Linked DNA regions of Homo sapiens: region 1 is linked to region 2. The links are contacts of gene promoters, found by promoter capture Hi-C in human tissues and cell types (Jung and others, 2019). All regions are on one chromosome and are shown on one strand. The core of a region is centred on a gene start or on the middle of the fragment in contact, and the rest is flanking DNA. Distances in the headings are between cores, read along the strand shown. Region 1 overlaps BRI3BP (BRI3 binding protein). Region 2 holds the start of AACS (acetoacetyl-CoA synthetase).

The links. Contacts are between HindIII fragments. The study calls those that stand out against the background at their distance.
Region 1: a contact is called between a fragment that was not itself captured here and the fragment with the promoter of AACS in region 2, in 1 of the 25 tissues and cell types used here (lymphoblastoid cells).

Annotation. Positions count from the first base shown.
Region 1 is chr12:125,020,773-125,026,643 of GRCh38, forward strand. It overlaps BRI3BP (BRI3 binding protein), which reads left to right. Exons shown (of 3, transcript NM_080626.6): 3 at 4,219-5,871. The coding sequence ends at 4,658. It overlaps THRIL (TNF and HNRNPL related immunoregulatory long non-coding RNA), which reads right to left. Exons shown (of 1, transcript NR_110375.1): 1 at 4,671-5,871. Among named protein-coding and RNA genes, the nearest start is that of THRIL, 3.7 kb to the right of the region's middle. The HindIII fragment of the contact is 6,522 bases long and covers 1-5,555 here.
Region 2 is chr12:125,061,652-125,067,394 of GRCh38, forward strand. It overlaps AACS (acetoacetyl-CoA synthetase), which reads left to right and starts at 3,784. Exons shown (of 18, transcript NM_023928.5): 1 at 3,784-4,066. The coding sequence starts at 3,934. It overlaps LOC105370052 (a long non-coding RNA gene), which reads right to left. Exons shown (of 4, transcript XR_001749365.2): 3 at 3,352-3,459. RefSeq lists a silencer at 3,425-4,044. The HindIII fragment of the contact is 13,528 bases long and covers 1-5,743 here.

The sequences.
Region 1 (5,871 bases), core at 1,045-3,544, 42 kb before region 2:
GGGAGGCTGAGGTGAGAGGATCGCTTGAGCCCAGGAGGTAGAGGTTGCAATGAGCTAAGATCATGCTACTGAAGTCTAGCCTGGGCTACAGAGCAAGACTCTGTCTCAAATAAATAAATAAATAAATAATAAAATTTAAAAGATAATTAACAACTAATTAAAAACTACCTAATTTTCTGCTATGGAAAATATATCAGTTAGGTAGAACCCACATAAACGAAAGCTCTGGGGACGCTTCAATAATACTGAAGAGTGCAAACGGTCTTGAGACTGAGAGGTCTGGGAAACACTGGTTTAGCCTCCAGTCTGCAGGGGACAGGTGTGAAAGTCAGCTCCCAAGTCAACCACATTTAGTCAAAATGCTCACGATGCCTCAGGAAGGCACAGTGTAGCAAACACACTCTGGCTTCTGGGGAGTCCTGGTGACCCCAAGCCTTTAGTCCCAGAGATGGCTGCTGTTTACAGTGTTGGACTCTAGACACTGGCCAGCTGTGCGGAGTCTGATCATTTTGGGGAACTATGAGATGTTCACGCCGTAGGTGTCGTTATTGACCGGAGGAGCTCCAGGGTTGAGGCTTCCCATCTCAGGCCTGCTCTGGATTTGCGCTTGCCCACTCCAGATCGTTGTGTCACACTTTGGTCCTCTTTGGCTGGGCGTGGTGCCTCACACCTATAATCCCAGCACTTAGGGAAGCCAAGGCAGGCAGGTTGCTTGAGCTCAGGAGTTCGAGACCAGCCTGGGCAACATAGCGAGATCCTATCTGTATTTGCTGGTTTCCACACTGCTATAAGGAACTACCTGAGGCTGTGTAATTTATAAATAAAAGAGATTTAATTGACTCACAGTTCCACATGGCTGGGGAGGCCTCAGGAAACTTGTAATCATGGCGGAAGGCAAAGGGGAAGCAAGGCACGTCTTACGTGGTGGCAGGAGAGAGGAAGCAAGAGCGAGGGGTAAACTGCCAAACACTTTTAAACCATCAGATCTCGTGAGACTCACTCACTTTCATGAGAATAGCATGGAGGAAACCACCTCCACGATCCAATCACCTCCTACCAGGTCCCTCCCTGGACACGTGGGGATTACAATTTGAAATTAGATTTGGGTGAGAACACAGAACCAAACCACTTCACTGTCTCTACAAAAAAATACAAAAATTAGCCAGCTGTGGTGGTGCATGCCTATAGTCCTAGCTACTCGGGAGTCTGAGGTGGGAGGATCGCTTGAGCCCAAAAGGTCAAGGCTGCAGTGAGCCGAGATCACACCATCACACTCCAGCCTGGGTGACAGAAAAAGACCCTGTCTTAAAAAAAAAAAAAAAAAAAAAAGACCACAGATTCTTGGGCCCACCCAGGACCTACTGAATCAGATGTCCTGGGGGTGGGGCCCAGCAACCTGTTTTCCTAAGCCCTCCAGGGGATTCCTGGAGGAATCACACAAGTTTGAGAACTGCTTGTGTGAGAAGGCTTAGGATATAACTCTCCTTGAACTCATTAAACAACACTGTCAGGAAACAAACAATTGCAGCATGTGGGACCTCCTGCAAGAAAACCATCCTGGAAAAATTAGACTTCAGAATTTCAGTGTTTCTAAAATGTCATGGGTCTCTTCTCAATTAATGGAGACTAAAGTGATGGCAAATGCTGAACGTGAACTGTCGCTGGGTCCTGGTGAGGGTTGGGAGGAAACAGCTATTCCTGGATAACTGAGAAATTCAAGTGATGTTATATGGAATTGTTAATTTATTATTTATTTATTTATTTATTTATTTTTTGAGACAGAGCCTCACTGTGTCTCAGGTTGGAGTGCAGTGGCGCCATTGGCTCACTGCAACCTCTGCCTCCCTGGGTTCAAGCGATTCTCGTGCCTCAGCCTCCCAGGTAGCTTGGATTACAGGTGTGCGCCACCACGCCCAGCTAATTTTTATATTTTTAGTAGAGATGGGGTTTCACCATGTTGGCCAGGCTGGTCTCAAACTCCTGATCTCAGGTGATCCACCCACCTTGGCCTCCCAAATGCTGGCATGAGCCACCGTGCCCAGCCTGGAATTGTTAATATTCTTAGAATGATGATAGTATCATGGTTTTGAGGTGAATGATGTCTTTATTCTTAGATGTATGATGAAGTATGATGTGTACATCTTTCAAATGGGTTAATCTAAAAAGTATGTAAATAGAGAATGCAACATTCAGAATTTTTAATAATTGTTCAGTCTAGTTGGTTTCAAAAGGAATATTCTACTGTTCTTTTAACTTTTTTGTTTGAATTTCTTCAAGTCAGGCACACAGAAGATGCTACTCTTACATTTCACTGCATTCTTGAGATGGAACTTCGTGTGTGGGTACCAGTTAGGATCAGGTTTGGCTGAAACAGAAATCCAACATAACATTGGCTTAACCAAGATGGACACCTATTTCCCTCTTATATGAAAGTTCTCAGGGAGGTGGTGAGGCGGGTTTGATGGCTCTGATGCATGTGGTGCTCTGGACCAAAGCACCTTCCATTTTATTGTTCCTCCATGAGTGCCTTCCAAAATGGCTGCTCCAGTTCCAGCCATTGTATCCATGTTCCAGCAGGCAGAAGAGGTAAAGGACACATTCCTGCTACTTTTAGGGAACACATGGCCAAAGCTTAGTTATGTAGCTGCAAGAGAGGCTAGGAAATGCTTTAATCCTAGGTAGTTGTGTGCCCAGCCTGAAGGTGGGCATTTGTTACTATGGAAATTGAAGGACAATTTGCAGGCTATGCCCCACTTCCAGAGGTGTTTTAGTAAAAGGTGAAAGTTGTCTTTTGAGACAAAGTCTTACTCTGTCACACAGGCTGGAGTGCAGTGGCACATTATGGCTCACTGCAGCCTCTACCTCCCAGCCTCAAGTGATCCTCCCACCTCAGCCTCCTGAGTAGCTGGGACTACAGGTGTGTGCTACCACACCTGTCTAATTTTTTTAAAATTTGTGTTCTCTAGAGATTGGGTCTGTATTAGTCTATTTTCACACTGCTATCAAAACATACCCGAGGCCAGGCGCAGTGGCTCACACTTGTAATCCCAGCACTTTGGGAGGCTGAGGAGGTGGATCACTTGAGGACACTAGTTCAAGACCAGCCTGGCCAACATGGTGAAACCTCATCTCTACTAAAAATACAAAAATCAGCTGGGTGTGGTGGCATGTGCCTATAATCCCAGCTACTTGGGAGACTGAGGCAGGAGAATTGCTTGAACCTGGGATGCAGAGGTTGCAACGAGCCAAGATTGTGCCACTGCACTCCAACCTCAAAAACACAAACAAAAAAACCAAAAAACCTGAGACTAGGTAATGCATAAATAAAAGAGGTTTAATTGACTCACAGTTCTGCGTGGCTCAGGAAACTTATAATCATGGCAGAAGGCAAAGGAGAAGCAAGCACCTTCTTCACAAGGCAGCAGGAGAGAAAGAGAGAGCAAAGGGGGCAGCTGCCAAACACTTAAACCATCAGATCTCATGAAACCCCCCCCCCTCCACTGTCACAAGAACAGCATGGGGAAACCACCCCCATGATCCAATCACCCCCCACGAGGTTCCTTCCTCCACACGTGAGGATTATAATTCAAGATGAGATTTGTGTGGGAGCACAGAGCCAGTCCATATCAGGGTCTCACTATGTTGCCCAGGCTAAAGGTGAAAGATGTATATGATTTGAAGAGAAACCAGTATATGGAGAGGTTTTTAAAACTCAACATGGCAGGTCGTCTTAAAGGGCTTCCCTGGCTGGGCATGGTGGCTCATGCCTGTAATCCCAGCACTTTGGGAGGCCGAGGCAGGTGGATCACCTGAGGTCAGGAGTTCGAGACCAGCCTGATTAACATGGAGAAACCCCGTCTCTACTAAAGATACAAAATTAGCCGGGTGTGGTGGCGCATGCCTGTAATCCCAGCTACCCCGGAGGCTGAGACAGGAGAATTGCTTGAACCCAGGAGGCGGAGGTTGTGGTGAGCCGAGATCACACCATTGCACTCCAGCCTGGGCAACAGAGCAAGACTCCATCTCAAAAAAAAGAGGCTTCCCTGTGTGTCCTCATGGAGCAAAGTGTGACTATTCACAGAGGAACTTCCTTGAGTTCCTTTGGTTGTTGCAAAGGCCTTTTAAGCCCCACAGGCCAGCTCAACTATCCAATTCTAGCTTGTTAAGAAACCCCTGGCCCCTGCGTAACGAGCCCTGTTCCTCTTTTCTGTCCCGCAGTCTCCAACCTGTCCCAGTATTTCAGCCCAGCCTCGGTGTCCAGCAGCCCGGCCCGCGCGCTCCTGCTGGTCGGCGTCGTCCTCCTGGCCTACTGGTTCTTGTCCCTGACCCTGGGCTTCACTTTCAGCGTCCTGCACGTGGTGTTCGGCCGCTTCTTCTGGATCGTGCGGGTCGTCCTGTTTTCCATGTCCTGCGTGTACATCCTGCACAAGTACGAGGGCGAGCCGGAGAACGCGGTGCTGCCGCTGTGCTTCGTGGTGGCCGTCTACTTCATGACCGGGCCCATGGGCTTCTACTGGCGAAGCAGTCCCAGCGGCCCCAGCAACCCCAGCAACCCCAGCGTGGAGGAGAAGCTGGAGCACCTGGAGAAGCAGGTCAGACTGCTCAACATCCGTCTCAACCGGGTGCTCGAGAGCCTGGACCGCTCCAAGGACAAGTGAAGGTCAGCCGGCCGGGCGGGTCCACAGTTACCAGCACGCTGTCTCAGAAAACGAAAACGGAGGAAAAAAACCCCAAACCCCAAACAATCTTAATAAACACGACTGAGCAAGAAAGTGGCGCTGTGTAGGGCTATTTCCACCCACCCGGCAGCTCTTAGGACACATTCCCAGAAGAGCGGAAAGATCATTGACGTGGAACTACACACGAAGTGTAATTAGTGGGGGAAAAAATATTTTTTAAACAAAGGATATAACCATATTTAGTTGTACAGTAAGAGAAATTTATCTGTGCATAGAGCATAAAGTTAATTTTTTCAAGCATTTAAATACATCTTTTGTAAGGTTTTTTAATAAAGGCAGATTGAGTCAAGTTTATTAAAACTTTACATGGAGGGGAAGAATATGCTAATTTGACATTTGAGAAAAGTTTAAATGCGAGCGTTTGTTTTCACAGCTTAGGGATTGGTGGGTGAGGTCTGTGTGCGTTATTTTCATGTTCCCAAACTGTGAGCTTTATTTCATGTTATTTTTGGTGGATGTTGACTTAGTTCATGAATGTTGTCACTTCTAAATGTGGACAGTTGGGCTGCAGGATGCAACTCAACCTCTTTTGGATCCTAGAGACCCCTGCCAAGCCCCCATCAGTCCTATTTTTAAATGAAGACATCGCCATTTCTAGAAGACCTGAGATTTTCTTCCCTCTGTGCTTCGATGTATTTTAACCTCAACATTTTGAAACGGAAAATGCAAGGAGGGGCCAAGAAATGTCCTGGGGATTTGATGCCAGGAAGTACCTGGTAAGGATTGGAGATTGCTCCAGAATCTACTGCATGTCCCAATTTGCAGTTTGCTCACTAGGGCTATATACAAAAGCTATACCCTTGAGGGTTTTTTTTTTTTTCTTTTGATTTCCTCAGGACCTTAGAGGGAAAACAAACAGTAGCAGCTAATATTCTCAAGTATATTGCTGCTTAGAAAGATCCTCAGGAACAATTAGCAGCAATAAGCAAGCCTTTGAAAAGATCTGAATTCTTTTTCCTGAAATATTTACGATACACAGGTGCTTTTTATCTGAAATCTGTTGTGTCCTCCTTTTAGGCAGTCTCTGTGGGCAGAGAGTGGGACTTGCGAGGTGGACAGCTGTGGGGATCCTGGGCAAGGGAGTTTCAGAAGGTGTGGCTCAGGGGCTGGTAGAAACCCCCTTTTGTTAGGA
Region 2 (5,743 bases), core at 2,534-5,033:
TCAGTGCAACCTCTGCCTCCTGTGTTCAAGTGATTCTTCTGCCTCGGCCTCCTGAGTAGCTGGGATTATAGGCATGCGCCGCCATGCCCAGCTAATTTTGTATTTTTAGTAGAGACGGGGTTTCTCACTGTTGGTCAGGCTGGTCTTGAACTCCCAACCTCAGGTGATCTGCCTGCGTCGGCCTCCCAAAGTGCTAGGATTACAGGCCTGAGCCACTGCGCCCGGCCAGGACTACCTACCTCTTAACTGGATCTCTGAGCTCTGGGCAGAGCCCACATTGAATCCTGGGTCTCCAAAAAGGGAGAAGTATTTTGAAGTTAGACGATGTGATGCTTTTACAGTACGCTTAAATTTTTTTTTTTTTAACAAAGATATTTCTTTTTTTTTTTTTTTGAGACAGAGTCTCATTCTGTTGCCCAGGCTGGAGTGCAGTGGCGTGATCTCGGCTCACTGCAATCTCTGCTTCCCGGGTTCATGCCATCCTCCTGCCTCAGCCTCCTGAGTAGCTGGGATTGCAGGCACCCGCCACCATGGCTGGCTAATTTTTTGTATTTTTAGTACAGATGGGGTTTCACCGTGTTAGCCAGGATGGTCTCGATCTCCTGACCTTGTGATCCATCTGCCTTGGCCTCTGAAGTGCTGGGATTACAGGCGTGAGCCACCGTGCCTGGCCAACAAAGACATTTCTAAGTGTCTAAACTACACTCTTCCTTAAAAACCCCAGAGTAGCATCTGTTGCAATAGCTGTTAATGAAAAAAACAGAATTCAGTCAACTGAGAAAAACAAAAACAAAAACAAAAAAACCTTTGCTCTAAAAAAAAAGCATCAGTTCCTAGGAGAGAAAAACAAAAACAAAAACATGATAGCCTTTTAAATACAAACACGAGCACATGCGCACACACATCTTGGATGTTAGCTTTTAATGAAGCTGACTTTTAACCATTGAGCTCCTTTAAAAAAATCTTTTTAAAATCTCATTACTATATTTCTGTTAGGACAAATTGCTGCTATTTCAGAAGTACCAAGTAGCAAACCAGAAAGGACTTGATTTAGGAACTAAATCTAGGCTGTCGTGGTTAGAAAAAGCAGGCAGAGCCTTAGCTATGGAACTGCAGCTTGGGGCAACAGCCATTGCTTTCACTTTGGCCTGGCTAGCAAAAAGGTGGCCTTATGTAAATAAAGCCCCTTTAGTAGTTAAAATCAAACATCTTTCCTCTTTTAATTTTTTTCTTTTGCTGGTTGTTTTTTCCCCCTACCAGGCCACGTGTGTGTGTGTGTGTGTGTGTGTGTGTGTGTGTGTGTGTGTGAATTTAGCCACTTTACAGTCCTTGTTCCCAGCAATTTGGAACTTTCCTTTTGATTTGATCAAGTCAGATATAGTTGATCAAACCCAATGGGAAAAGACCAAAGCAACAACAAAAACAGAGACAAACAAGCAACCAAAAAAGCATTTAAGCCAAACAAAAAATGGCACAACTTATATGATCACTGAGCACGCTCTAATGGTAAGGATAAATTAATGTTAGAGGAAAGCGGTCCCGATCCAGACCCCAAGAGAGGGTTTTTGGATCTCACGCAATAAAGAATTCAAGGCGAGTCTACAGACTAAAGCAAATGCAAGTTCCTTAGGAAAGTAGAGGAATAAAAAGATGGCTACTCCATAGACAGAGCACCCTGAGGGGTGCTGGTTGCCCATTCTCATGGTTATTTCTTGATGATATGCTAAACAAGGGGTGGACTATTCATGCCTCCCCTTTTTAGACCATATAGAGTAACTTCCTGACATTGCCATGGCATTTGTAAACTGTCATGGTGCTGATGGGAGTGTAGTAGTGAAGTCAAGCAGAGGTCACTCTCATCACCACCTTGGTTTTGGTAGGATTTAGCCGGCTTTTTTACTGCAGCGTGTTTTATCAGCAAGGTGTTTATGACTTGTATTTTGTGCCGACCTCCTGTCTCATCCTGTGACTTAGAATGCCTTCACTGTCTGGGAATGGAGCCTAGTAGATCTCAGCCTCATTTTACCCAGCCCCCACTCAAGATGGAGTTGCTCTGGTTCAAATGCCTCTGACATTAAGACCAGCTGGCTGTTAACCTTAACTTTAGCCAAGACAAACCCCAATTCAGTTACTTACCTAGGGATGGGTCTTAGGCTGTAGACTGCTCTCTACCATTCTAGAAGCAGGAAAAAAGACCTCATCTTCCCTGTTGGAAGCGAGCTCAAACTCCATAAAGGAGTTACCTGCCTTCCATTGTCATGGAAGCAGGAAACCTTGCCTTCCTTGTTGGAAGCAAGTAAAACTGCAAAGAAAAGAGTTGTACAGCAAAATAAACTTTAGATCTCCACCAAATTTTGGGAGATCAGGGAGGCTCTGGAGGGGGTGCTCTCAGACCTGGGCTCACTCTTGTAATCCCAGCACTTTGGGAGGCCGAGGCGGGTGGATCACCTGAGGTCAGGACTTCAAGACCAGCCTGGCCAACATGGTGAAATCCCGTCTCTACAAAAATGCAAAAATGAGCCGGGCTCGGTAGCTCACGCCTGTAATTCCAGCACTTTGGGAGGCTGAGGCGGGCGGATCACCTGAGGCCGGGAGTTGGAGACCAGCCTGACCAACATGGAAAAACCCTGTCTGTACTAAAAATACAAAATTAGCCAGGCGTGGTGGCACATGCCTGTAATCCCAGGTACTCGAGAGGCTGAGGCAGGAGAATTGCTTTAACCTGGGAGATGGAGGTTGCCGTGTGCCGAGATCTCGCAATTGCACTCCAGCCTGGGTAACAAGAGCGAAACTTCGTCTCAAAAAAACAAAACAAACAACAACAACAACAAAAAAAAAAACACGAAAAATTAGCTGGGCATGATGGCGTGTGCCTGTAATCCCAGCTACTCAGGAGGCTGAGGCAGGAGAATCGCTTGAACCTGGGAAGCAGAGGTTACAGTGAGCTGAGATTGGGACATTGCACTCCAGCCTGGGCGACTGAGTGAGACTCAAAAAAAAAAAAAAAGCTAAGGCGGGGAGGGGGCCTTCCAGGTCATAGGTAGATAAGGGACAAATGGCTGCATTCTTTTGAGTTTTCAATTAGCCTCTGCAAAGGAGGCAATCAGGTGTGCATTTAACTCAGCAGAGGGGTGACTTTGAATAGAATGGAGGCAGGTTAGCCCTAAGCAGTTCCCAGCTTTTCTTTTCCCTTTAGCTTAGTAGTGGGGCCCCAAGATTTATTTTCCTTTCACAAATGTGTATTTTGATACCCATTGGCATACTATGTATATTATTGTATTATACTATGACATTATCTTGTGTATGTACACGATGTACTTATTTGTTAATCGTCTCCCGTCTTCCTCACACCTGTACCCCTCCTCTCCTGTTGACAGAGAACAAGAATTTTGTTTTGTTCGCTGCTGTATCCGCAAAGCTCCCAAAGTCCTCCGAATGCCGCAGGCTCTCAGTAAAGACCTGCAGGAAGAAATAGCGAATGAATGATGTACACGTGTAGGAAACAGCGGGCTCGGACGCCTGGCTTCTCCGGCTGCCCTAACGCCCTCCAGCTCCAGGTGAGGTCGGGGAGCTGGGGCCAAGGCTCGTGAGCGCCCCTCACCCCCACGCCCCCCGGCCGCGGGCGCTGGAGCCGGCGGCTGCGAGCACTCCTTTGAGCGGCGCTGCACTCAGCGGAGGGTTACAGGCGGGAGGGCGGGGCCTGGAAGGGGGCGGGGATTCGAGGCGGGGCCTGCGGGGCGGGGCCTGGGCCAAGCGGCCCGCAGGAGGCGGCGGCGGCCGTTCAGTCCCTTGTTCCCCGCCGCCGCCGTCGCTGACCCAGCCCGCCAGGCGCTCCTGACCGTCGCTTCCTCCGGTCCCAGGTCCCCGGCCCTCGCCTCAGCCCCGGCCCCTGGTCCCCAGCCCTCGTCGCAGCCCCGGCCGCCCGCCGCCGCCATGTCCAAGGAGGAGCGCCCCGGTCGGGAGGAGATCCTGGAGTGCCAGGTGATGTGGGAGCCTGACAGTAAGAAGAACACGCAGATGGACCGCTTCCGGGCGGCTGTGGGCGCCGCCTGCGGCCTGGCGCTGGGTGAGAGTCGGGCGCGCGGCCGGGCCTGCGGGGGATGGGCGGGAGCCGTGCAGGGTGGTTGGGTGGTCTCCCCATGGCTAGTTTCACGCTTCTGGGGCTGGAGGAGCCACTTGATGGCGGGGAGGCCTTCTGACTGCGGGGTTCCCCCCAGTCTTGGGGAACATCACCCCTCCACAGCACCTCCTGGCACTTCCTGACTCTGCAGCGTCTCCTCTGCATGTGGGGGTCACCCTCTCCCCGGGAGTGTCACCCCTCGGGAGGGCCAGCTGCCTGTTGACCGTGTGACCCCTTGCTAGGCTTTCCTACCTGTGAGGTGCTCCCTGGAGTCTTGACCTCCGGCCTGTGGGGGCTTCCCCCGGACATAGGGCCTTTTTGACTTGCAGCTCTTCCTCTGTTTGTGGGGGTCCCTTGCCAGTCCCCAGTGCCGTGCACTCTGTCCCCCTGACCTCCCTCATCTCCAGCTGCCCCTGCTGGAGGCCAGCACCTAGCAGGATGGTCAGGCAGGAGGCCCTGTCCACGTGTCTACACTCCCAGCCCCCAAACAGAACCTAGTAAAAGACTCTCTTTCCACCCATCACCTTGAACCTCAGAAACTGCCTCTCTCGGTGCGGGTGGGGCAAAGGCTCCTTCTCCGTGGGGTAACCGCTCCGGGTGCTCTTCCTGAGCTCTAGCTGGCTTGCCCAACTACCAGCTCCACCCCTCCACCCTGCCTCCCCTAGGTATTCCTAGGGGATTTTTTTTTTTTTTTTTTGAGACAGTTTCTCTCTCGTTGCCCAGGCTGGAGTGCAATGGCGAGATCTCGGCACACTGCAACCTCCGCCTCCCGGGTTCAAGTGATTCTCCTGCCTCAGCCTCCCGAGTAGCTGGGATTACAGGCATACACCACCACGCCTGGCTAATTTTGTATTTTTAGTAGAGACGGAGTTTCTCCATGTTGGTCAGGCTGGTCTCGAACTCCTGACCTCAGGTGATCCGATCGCCTTGGCCTCCCAAAGTGCTGGGATTACAGGTGTGAGCCACGGCGCCTGGCCTCCTAGGGGATTTTTAACTCATGGTCTCCCCTCCTCACCCCCTCCGCTGGCGCAGGGACTCCCTTGTTTCTGTTGGTGGCGTCACTGTTCTTGCTCAGGCTCACAGGGATGGACACCCCAGTCACCTGTGGCACCAGAAGTCTTCTGCCACAGCCCCATGTCGCTCACATCTCCTCCTTTGCAGCCCCTTGTCAGGGGTTCTGGGGCCTCCTTTCCTCCTCACCAAACAGTGGTTGGTTTTCCTGCTTCCTGCTTTTCCATCCATTTGCATCCTGCTTGCTTTGCCAGAGTAATCTTGAAGCATACAGGTCTTACTTTGTCACTCCTTGGCTCAGAAGTTCTCAGTGGTTCCTTGTTGACCACAAAATTGCAGACGGCTGCCTGGCAGCTTCCAGGCCCTCCACAGCAGTGGGGAGCTTCCACAGAGTCATTTTCCTAGGCTAACCCAGAGCTGTTCCTCTCCTTCCCTTCCTCTCCCTTGGAGACAGGTGTAGTCTGTTGCCCCAGGGGCTTCTGGACAGCAGTTGGTAAATGAGTATGTGTTGGATTAGGGCAGCCTGGAGACTCCTGGAAGAAGCAGGAGGCTGCCATGTGGGATTATGTTCTTCCTCTGTGTCACCTTGCCTTGATTCCATCTGTTTCCTCT